Linked DNA regions of Homo sapiens: all the other regions are linked to region 1. Evidence: promoter capture Hi-C in 16 types of primary human blood cells and fetal thymus (Javierre and others, 2016). All regions are on one chromosome and are shown on one strand. Each heading gives the region's core, a stretch centred on a gene start or on the middle of the fragment in contact. The rest is flanking DNA. Distances are from core to core; before and after follow the strand shown. Region 1 holds the start of MPPE1 (metallophosphoesterase 1). Region 2 has its middle 3.9 kb from the start of PTPN2. Region 3 overlaps CEP76 (centrosomal protein 76).

Region 1 (3,346 bases), core at 445-2,944:
GAGGTGGGTGATCACCTGAGGTCGGGAGTTCAAGACCAGCCTGACCAACATGGAGAAACCCCGTCTCTACTAAAAATACAAAATCAGCCAGGGTAGTGGCACATGCCTGTAATCCCAGCTACTCGGGAGGCTGAGGCAGGAGAATCGCTTGAATGCGGGAGGCGGAGGTTGTAGTGAGCCGAGATCGCGCCATTGCACTCCAGCCTGGGCAACAAGAGCGAAACTCCGTCTCAAAAAAAAAAAAAAAAAATTTATCTTTGAACTTTTCAATTTGTATTTATTTATTTATTTATTTTTAGAGATAGGGTCTCACTCCACCGCCCATTGTAAATCAAAAATGAAATCCTAAGACCCCTCAACCATCTGCATGGACCCCACCAAGGGCATTCCAGAGTTAACCTTGTTTTAGGTTGTTTTAAGCAAAACTTGTTTAGGCCATGATGGGAAGTGGGGGTGGAACTTGACACATTTCATCCTCCTCCCTTTTAGAATTCAGGAAAAGCAGACCAGCATTTAACATGCTGGACACTTAACTTACCTGGAGGCTTCATCTGCATGATAAAACTTCAGTCTCCACAGCCTCTTATTGTAACCCAAACATTCCTTTCCATTGATAATAAATCTTTCAACCAAATGCCAATCAGAAAATTTTCAATCTACCTATAACCCGGAAACCCCCGACCCACCCACCTCCTCAGCTGTCATACCTTTATGGACCGAACCAATGTACATCTTAATCTTACATGTATTTGACTGATGACTCATGGCTCCCCTAAAATGCATAAAACCACACTGGGCCCCGACCACCTTGCGTACGCGTTCTCAGGGTCTCCAAATGGCTGTGTCACCAGCCATGGTCACTCATATTTGGCTCAGAATTAATCCCTTCAAATATTTTATAGAGTTTTGACTTTTTGTCAACCGCAGGCTGCGTCACAGCTCGCTGCAGCCCCAAACTCCTGCGCTGAAGCGATCCTTTCCCCCACAACTTCTCGAGTAGCAGGGACTTCAGGTGCGTGCCACTACACCTGGCTTTTTTTTTTTTTTTTTTTGGTACTTTTGTTGTTATGGTGGGGGCGGGGGACTTGCTATGTTGCCCAGGCTGGTCTCGCATCTCTGGGATCAAGCCATCCTCCCACTTCAGCGTCCCAGAGTGCTGGAATTACAGGCCTAAGCAACGGCACCCAGCCTATCTTTTAATTTTTAACTTCAAAGTTATCGTTAAAAATCTAATCCCCCCAAAATATGAAAAAAATACTTAATATGCACTGACCTGTAGTTTTTCTCTAATTCACTATCTTAAATATATTAATTGCAATCTCATCAACTGCGACTTGCATTTGAAATTTTCCACCTTAAACGGTATTTTTTGATAAGATGGATTTTTTAAAAAATCTACACCAGCAAACTAGAGTGAGAGACCCCTGCAAAGTAATACATGGGCCTTAAGTCACCGAGATTTTCCAGCAAATAATTTGCAGAATGCTGTTTTTCCTAGGTTAACTTGCAATCCTAACACGGAAGGAGGTTCCGTTTTTAGAAGTTTAAATGTTGTCACACGGGCGCAAGAATACATACAACAGCCATGCTTTCCAGCTCTGCGCACAACGCCAGGCAGATGGGGAGCACCGGGCGGTGCGGGAGCCCTTTCACCAGGGCAGGGTGGCTTCGGTGGCCGAGGGACCCGGGAACTGCAGCCGGAGCCGGCGCGCACCCAGCCAACTTCCTGTTTCCGCGGTAGCGCGCGGGCCTGTCACTGAAGCCCCGCCCCGGCGACCTCAGGCGGGCGGGGAAGACCGAGTCTTCCCGGAGCCGCTTCGTCCGCCCGGCGCCGGAGTCCCACGGCCGGTTTGCGGAAGCGGGTCGTCTGAAGGGGCCCGGCGGGTGGCTCCCGGGTCTCCGCGGCCTGTGATCCCCAGAGCGGACAACCGCAGCTGGGGCTCCGTGCGCAACTCGGAGTAAAGGCCGGAACCTACGCTCGGCGGCCGCGTCCCGGCCCCTAGCGCCCTCCGCGAAGTGCCTGGCAGGCTCGGCAGTCTGAGTGTCGCGTTACAGAGTCCCCTGGGCAGTCACCGCTGAAGGGCGGGGGACGCGGGAAAGGCATTTTGGGGACACAGGAGAGCTGCGAGGGCGAAGCACGGGCGAGCTGTCGTTAGGGCCCAGGAAAGGCCCGTTGCGGGGCGCACAGGCGGGCAGGGGAACTCGCGCCCCGCGCCGCGCGCCCGGCCTCCTGACGCCAGGGCCGGCTTCTGAGCACAGCCACCGCGGCGGCCGGGGGCGGCCACTGCTCCCCGCGAGCCCGCTTCCGCGCCCCAGAAGCCCCCAGAGCCCGCGTCCGAGCTCCAGGCCTTGGAGGAGCCAGGCGGGCAGCTGACAGCCCCGGAGCCGCTCCCGGGTTCCGCGCGCGGTGGCAGCCAGGCCGTGCCTCCCCGTTCCCCTCCCGCGCCGCGCTGCCCCTCCGGGACCCACCAGGCCTGGCTGCGCCTCTTTCCTCTCCTCCCCCGGAGCCTTGGAAAGTGCCCTCCAGAGATGTGCTTAGGAAGTGTGTGATGAATAAAGGAGACAATCAGGATAACTATAATATTTATTATGCACTTGCTTTTTTCTCACTGATGTTACTAATTTTAATGGTGTAGCGCGGCGCGTTCCAGTTTTCTAAGTGCTCTCACATCCGTTCAAAAAATCCTCAAAATAAGCCTGTATATTAAAAGCAGGAGCCATTATTTCATATTTCAAGAAGTAAACATGCTCAGAGTAATAATCCACATAGAGCCTTCCAACCAGTCAATTCTGGTACATTTTCACAAATCTATGAGTGTGGTTAATACACGGAGATGTGGTTTGAGGAATTATATAGGACACAGCCAGCAAAATGCCTGGTATACAATAAGTATGCGGTAAATGGTTATTATTATTAAGAATATTGTAATATCTTCAGATATGATCAGGTGAACAACTTTGACATAATCGAAACTGGGACAGCCTGATTCCATAAACACACTAATATGGCACCGTGGATTGTTTGCAGCCTCACCTCTAAAGTATTCTCTCTGACTAACAAAGAAAGGGAAACTAGAACCAGTTAAGCTTATAACACTAATCACAGGCTAAAGGAAATACAGGGGCCAAATGAACCCATTAGATTACACCACCAGGAAGTAATCTGCCAAATCCAGAATGTGGGAAATTCTACAAACCAAATGACCCAATTTCTTTTTTCAAAAATAAATGTTCAGAGGCTGAAGTGGGAGGATTGCTTAAGGCCAGAGTTCAAGGCTGTAGTGAGCTATGATCACAGCTGTGAATAGCCACTGCACTCCAGGCTGGGCAACACAGCTAGACCCCC
Region 2 (3,346 bases), core at 310-2,809, 980 kb after region 1:
TACTGTTTAAGAGGCTCTCTCCCCTCAATGTATAATTTATACCCCTTTCAGAGAAAACTCTACTTACTACCCATAGCCCCTCCTGTGGTTTGAATAATGGTGTCCCCTCCAAAATTCACGTTGAAACTTTATCCTCATGGTGGCAGTATTAAGAGGTTGGCATTTGGGGAAGTGATTAAGTTATGAGGGTTCTGCTCTCATGAATTTGATTAGTGCCTCATAAAAGGACTGGAGGGAATTAGCTTGGGCCGTTTTTGCCCTTCTGTCCTGCCATGTGAAGGCCCCTAGGTGGCACCATGAGGAATGGGCCTTCAGCAGACACCAAACCTGCTGGTGCCTTGACCTTGGACTTCTCAGCCTTCAGAACTGTGAGAAATAAATTTCTGTTATTTGCAAATGACACAGTTGCAGCTATTTCATTATAGCAGCACAAACAGACTACCCTTATAGCTAGAACTTCAGAGGCACAAGCATATCAAAATACAGCCTAAAAGCCTGGTGTCTACAAGAGCTGTACATTTATAGAGCTGGGCAGACATTTGTTATACAAATTCAGATTGTACAGATTACAGTGAGAATGAACTTCAGTTAAATATATGTAGTTTTTAATAAACTTTTAATTGAAATATACACAAAAATGCACACAAATCACAAGTGCATAGCTCAGGGAGTTTTTACAGAGTGAACATAGCTGTCTATCAATACTCAGGCCAAGAACAGGAAATTTATCTCTCCTCCAGAAAGCCCCTGGAGCGCCATCCTAAATCCTCCCCCTTGAGTAACCAGCCCCAAGCCCTCTAACACCGTAGATTAGTTTTGCCTTTTTTGAACTTTGTTTAATTATATAATATGTGCTTTTTAATGTCTGACTGCTTTTGCTCAAGTTAGTGAGAGTCATCCACGTTGTAGGAATAGTTTGTTCATTCTTGCTGCTAAATAGCATATGATTGTTTGAGTCTACTACCATTTATTTGTTCTGAATTTGGTTGTTTCCAGTTTGGCCTTCTCATGAAGAGAACCATTAAGGACATGTTTGTCCTTGTCTTTTGGTAGACATACACTCATTTCTTGTGGGCATATGTCTAGGAGTGGGATTGCTGGATTGCAGTGTATCTATATGTTCATCATACACTGCTGAACAGTTTTCTGAGTGATTGCACCCGCACTTGAGCTTGGACACAGGATAAGGATGGCCACTATCATCACTTCTGTTCTATACTGTATAGTTATAGCAACAAGTGAGGAAAATTAAGAAGTGGTATAATGATTGGAAAGGATGAAACAAAGTTGATATTATAGCCAATATATTGTACACATAGAAAATCCAAAGTAATCTACAGGTCAACTATTAGATTAATAAGTGAATTTAGGCTAGGTGCAGTGGCTCACACCTGTAATCCGAGCACTTTGGGAAGTCAAAGTGGGAGGATCACTTGAGGCCAGTAGTTGGAGACCAGCCTGGGTAACATAGTGAGACTCCATCTCTAAAAATAAAAAAATTAGAAAAAAAAATTGAATTTAGAGATGTCTTTGAAAACAAAGTCAATATAAGAAAAAGCAGTTGTATTTTTTTTTTTTTTTTTGATGGAGTCACTCTGTCGCCCAGGCTGGAGTGCAGCGGTGCAATCTCAGCTCATTGCAACCTCTGCCTCCTGGGTTCACGCCATTCTCCCGCCTCAGCCTCCCAAGTAGTTGGGAATACAGGTGCCCGCCACCACGCCTGGCTAATTTTTTAGTAGAGATGGGGTTTCACCGTGTTAGCCAGTATAGTCTTGATCTCCTGACCTCGTGATCCGCCCACCTTGGCCTCCCAAAGTGCTGGGATTACAGGTGTGAGCCACTGCGCCCGGCAGAAAAAGCAGTTGTATTTCTACATAGCAACAGCAACTAGAAAATTTTTAAACATTGGAATATAAACTATTCCGAAAAATTCTTAACAAAAGATTAGCAAAACCTCTAGTCTGAAAACCACAACATATCACTCAGAGGAATGAAAGAAGAGCTAAATAAATGGAAGGATATACGATGTAATGTCTTGGAAACTTTAGTATTGTAAAGTTGCCAGTGCTTCTCAAAGTCATGTATGAATTCAGTGCAATCTCAATCAAAATCTCACCATATTTTTGTAGTGGAAATTGACAAGCTGATGCTACCATTTACAAATAAAAATGCAAGGGGCCAAGAATAGCCAAAATAATCTTAAGGAAGAAGAAAATGGAAGTTTTACCTCACCAGATAATAAGATTTACTCTAAAGCTACGATAATTAAAACAGCGTGTTCTTAGTGTGAAGATAGACAAATAGAAGAATGGAACAGAATAGAGTCTAAAGAAGAACTCAAGGGCCAAAAGTAGCCAAGAAGAACAGATCTGGAAGACATTATCCCTCCAGATATCAAGATCTCTTATAAAGATATGTGGTATCGACGCAAGGAAAGGCAAGCTGACCAAGGCAAGCTGACCAGTGGAACTAAACAAAGTCCAGAAACAGGTTCACACATATAGTCATCCGGTGTGTATCTTTGTGTGTGTGTATTTCACAAAGGCTTAAAGTAATGTGTCTTCAATAAATGGTGCTACATCCAAAAGAGCATAACTATATGTTTCCATTTTATATGAAGTTCAAAAATAGACAACAGAATAGTGATTACCTCTGGAGGCAGCTGGGGGCTGCCTCTGGTAGGGTGGGGGTGTTGCCTGGGAAGAAGCATGAGAGAATCTTCAGGGGTCCTGGAAATATTCCATATCTTGATTTGGTTGGTGGTACACTGTTGTGTATAATATACACGTATTTGTACATGTGTGTATAAAATGTCATTGAGCTCCACATTTAAGATTTTTTGGACTTTATTATATGTATGCTAACCTCAATAAAACTAAAAAATTCCTCACTCGAGTGAAAACTTTTTTAATTTAAATAAAAATAAACGGTATTTCATTTAGAAATGGAAACCAGGCACATTATCTTACACAGTATTTCATAAACTACCATCACCTAGTGAATATAGCAAAAGACTGTATATGGCTTCAAAGCCACATAATGCACCTAAATTCTCTAAAATTGCCAGCAATTACAAAGTGATAGATATGAGCCACATAGGATCAAGATGGGGATTCACTCATTCCATATTTTGGAGCCACAAAGTATATCTGCTGCCTAGGTTTGGACCAAATGCAATTAATGTATCAAACAAAAAATCCTAATATTTATTCAGCTTCATCCACAGCCTCCAAAAATGGTTTTAGTAAAAGACCAAATAAATTACGGTTTTTAAAAAAACTTTCGGGGCTGGGCGCGGTGGCTCACGCCTGTAATCCCAGCACTTTGGGAGGCCGAGACGGGCGGA
Region 3 (3,346 bases), core at 454-2,953, 790 kb after region 1:
AATGTCTCACTTTGCCCAGACTTGTCTTGAACTCCTGGCTTCAAATGATTCTCTCACCTAGACCTCCCAAAGTGTTGGGATTTCAGCTGTGAGTCACCGTGCTCAGCCTAAACTTCGACTTTTAAAAGTTACATAACATCATCAATCTGGTTATATTTTATAAATGAGAAGGACCATGTCTCATTTTCCACTATATCATCCCAGCACCTGCCTAGCATAACACTATGCACATAATAGGTATTTAAGTGTGTATTACTAAAGAATCAACAATGAAAACAGTCAAAAAATAATATCCAGGGAAAATGAATAGCAAACAGAATATTGCAAGAAGGTGGATAGTAGTTTAAATTGAAAAGAGCAGTGGGAAACAAAATAGAGATTCCTCCATTATAAATCTCTCCTTACAGAAAAAGTCATTATTATTGTTTCACAATAAAACATAACAAAGATTTACTCAATTAAATGACAATTTATTACTGTTTCTTACCCAAGCTTTCTCTGTGTACTTCAAGTAAAAAGCCATCATGAAAATCTGGTTCACAGGCACATGGAACAGGTTTAGAACGAAAACGTTGGTTTCGATAATGTAAACATAAAGTAAACGTTGAACAAACTTGTCCAGGTAAAGGCTCAGGTTCTTGCAGATGTTCCAAGAAAGCTTTTCCACCCAAAACCTGAAGGTAAAGATACCTCCGTGTTGGATCAATATTAGCTGTAAAGTGTAGCAATATATATGAGGAAACTGCCAAATAACTTAAAAGAATGTGATCAAGACATTAGGAAATAAAAACTTGACAGATAAAAACCCAATACCAAAGACTAAAAAAAAAGCAAAAGAGTAACAAATTTATTACTGTATATGCCAGAATCATTTGCACTCTGGGGAGAAGATACACAAAATATGATATTCTTTTCTGAGTTTACATCCAGGCTACTTTCTCCCAGCTGGAAAAGGCATCAGAGCCAATATGTAGTATACTTTTGCTTTTTAACTGCTTATCCAACATTCCTCCACCTTCACAAACCAACTCATATAATTATCAATTCAGCAAGTGTATTTGTCAATTATATTAATATTTAAAAGCAAGGCTGTACAGTTTTTATAAAACATATTATTAAAACACAAGAAACTGGTGATGCTGTTTTTGCTTCTACCGTGCTATACATTAACTCTTCTGATATACTTCATGCAAAACAATCTGTTTTAGCCAACCATAAAATTTTAAGTATTTTATTTTGGGGGGAAAAAATGGAAATGTCTTCTATCAAATACGAAAGACTACACCACATCAATATTTACTATTAACCACAACTAAATTAATGTTAAAATATACATACTTTTTTTTAATGTCGATTGTCTATCAAAACAAATAGGTTGTTTTGGAGAGGAAGGGAGTTCTTGCTCAACACTGTCCTAGAAAGGCAGGAAAAAAAAATCAAAACAAATTAGAAAACAATTATAGGTTAAGGAAATGTCAATAAACATGACTAAGCACTGAACCTAAAGTCAACAGGGTAAGGCCCTTTCAAAGAACCCCTTATTTTCCTAGCCTAATTAAAATAATGAAAATAAAAGCCTGCATAAAAGATGATGTAAACTGATCACTCCTAAAATCAAATGCTAAGGAATTAAACTGTCTTCAAGTAATACTATCCACATAAAGCTAAAAACAAATCCTTAATACCTTCAACAAGGTTAAACTTTCTGTAAACCTTATGTAACAGTTGGCTTATAATTCCACTATGAGCTGATTTTAATAAAGTGTCATCACAGAGTAGAAGCTGTTATTAGGTCAATTTTTATAACAAACGGGTTCATAAACTTCAAAAACCAAAAAAAGGTGCTGTATTAAAATACTTATTCCCTATTGTATTATGAAGTCCATCCAATTTTCACATTATATTACCCAGGTATTGAGGTCACAGTTTCCATTATTGCCTCACTTTCAAATGAAGGCCTACTTACTAATTGTGCACTGAGAGACTATCATCCCATTATTGACCTATTTGTATTAAAAGATTTGAGGACTCTTATGCAGTCAATTATTTTCTTAAAGAAATTTGTAATTTGTTAATCATAGAGAATATAATCCCAAAAGAGTGCTTATTTTAAAAATACGCTTAATCTAAAAAAGTTACAGATCATAATGAAAAAGAACTTTGTTATGGTGAACTAATTGGACTAAAGTATGTATATTCAAATTTACAGACCTAGAAAATAAGAGAAAATTCTGTCACTGTAGAGACAGGAATAAGATATCTAACACAAATTTCATTGATACACAAAACTATTCAGTATATTCAAGGGCAGAGCTAGCCTATACTTGAAACAAGGACACTAGTAAACAGAATGACCTTGAAGTGGTTTTACTAAAACGAAAGGCCCCACATCGGAACCTTATAAGTAGTGTTACGCATTAGTATATACATATATACTCTCATTTATTTCCCTAAAAGATTACTCACAGTAACAAAATTAAGTTCTTTCATCACATCGTCAATGATTCCTCGACGTCTAAGGGCTTTGATCAAATCTTCTGTTGATAAATGCTGTTGATCAGGTGCCAATTCTTCCCGTATAGTCTCAGCAAGGATTTCTCTTATTCTACCATGGACATCCATCTATGTAGAAAACTCATATTACAATTTATAACATCACAAAGCAGTCAAATACTGCTTCTGAAGTTTTAAGGTTCTCCAGCTAACAGTAAATGCACAATTGTTACCACAATTGAATGGGAACAAAGGTAAGCTTTTAAAGAATGAATCTTTTGAGTACAAATTCTAGAAATAGTCTCCACTGGTTATCTGGCACCTTTGTTACCATTTCTCCACAAACAACACTCAACCAAAAGGAATCTTCTGAGAGGGAGTATAGTATAATCAGAAGAACACGGACTGGGAGTAGGCAGATCAAAGTATGATCTTATTACTTTCATACTTTGATCTGCCTAATGATAAGGGAATCTTACCAGCTTTCAACTTAGTAGATGTGTAACCTCAAGCCAACTTATTTACCCTTTATAAATCTGTTTCGTCACCGATAAGAATGGAAAAACCTAGTGTAGTGCCCTCTCACGATAGTGTTGTGAGGATTAAAGATACTAGACAGCACAAAGCCTGGCACACAAGGGCACCATAAATGGTCGCTTTTATCACTTCAGCATCTTGCACTCAGTCGAGCGAGCGCTGCAGAAACTGGAGGTTCTTCTGGAGCTCCGAAATATTAACAAATTCCGTCATTACAAACCCTTTAGTAACTTCTCTTCCATGACTTATTTGAGAATTGCTGATTGAAGCTCCTGGTTCAACTTCGCTGATACCCACATGTTTCAGCGGTAAAGAA

What was found. The method cuts DNA at HindIII sites, captures the fragments that hold promoters and counts their contacts. A CHiCAGO score of 5 or more calls a contact.
Region 2: a contact is called between a fragment that was not itself captured here and the fragment with the promoter of MPPE1 in region 1, in 1 of 17 cell types (neutrophils). The highest score is 7.1, in neutrophils.
Region 3: a fragment that was not itself captured here is called in contact with the fragment with the promoter of MPPE1 in region 1 in 3 of 17 cell types (naive CD8 T cells, total CD8 T cells and non-activated CD4 T cells); the score reaches 7.3 in naive CD8 T cells.

Annotation. Positions count from the first base shown.
Region 1 is chr18:11,906,623-11,909,968 of GRCh38, forward strand. MPPE1 (metallophosphoesterase 1) reads right to left here and starts at 1,695. Exons shown (of 11, transcript NM_023075.6): 1 at 1,579-1,695. RefSeq lists a silencer at 2,088-2,487. The HindIII fragment of the contact is 5,797 bases long and covers 1-3,085 here.
Region 2 is chr18:12,886,456-12,889,801 of GRCh38, forward strand. No RefSeq gene overlaps it. Among named protein-coding and RNA genes, the nearest start is that of PTPN2, 3.9 kb to the left of the region's middle. The HindIII fragment of the contact is 5,305 bases long and covers 1-3,346 here.
Region 3 is chr18:12,698,492-12,701,837 of GRCh38, forward strand. It overlaps CEP76 (centrosomal protein 76), which reads right to left. Exons shown (of 12, transcript NM_024899.4): 2 at 2,467-2,622; 3 at 1,339-1,414; 4 at 488-712. It also overlaps a transcript of PSMG2 not described here. Among named protein-coding and RNA genes, the nearest start is that of CEP76, 2.6 kb to the right of the region's middle. The HindIII fragment of the contact is 2,094 bases long and covers 657-2,750 here.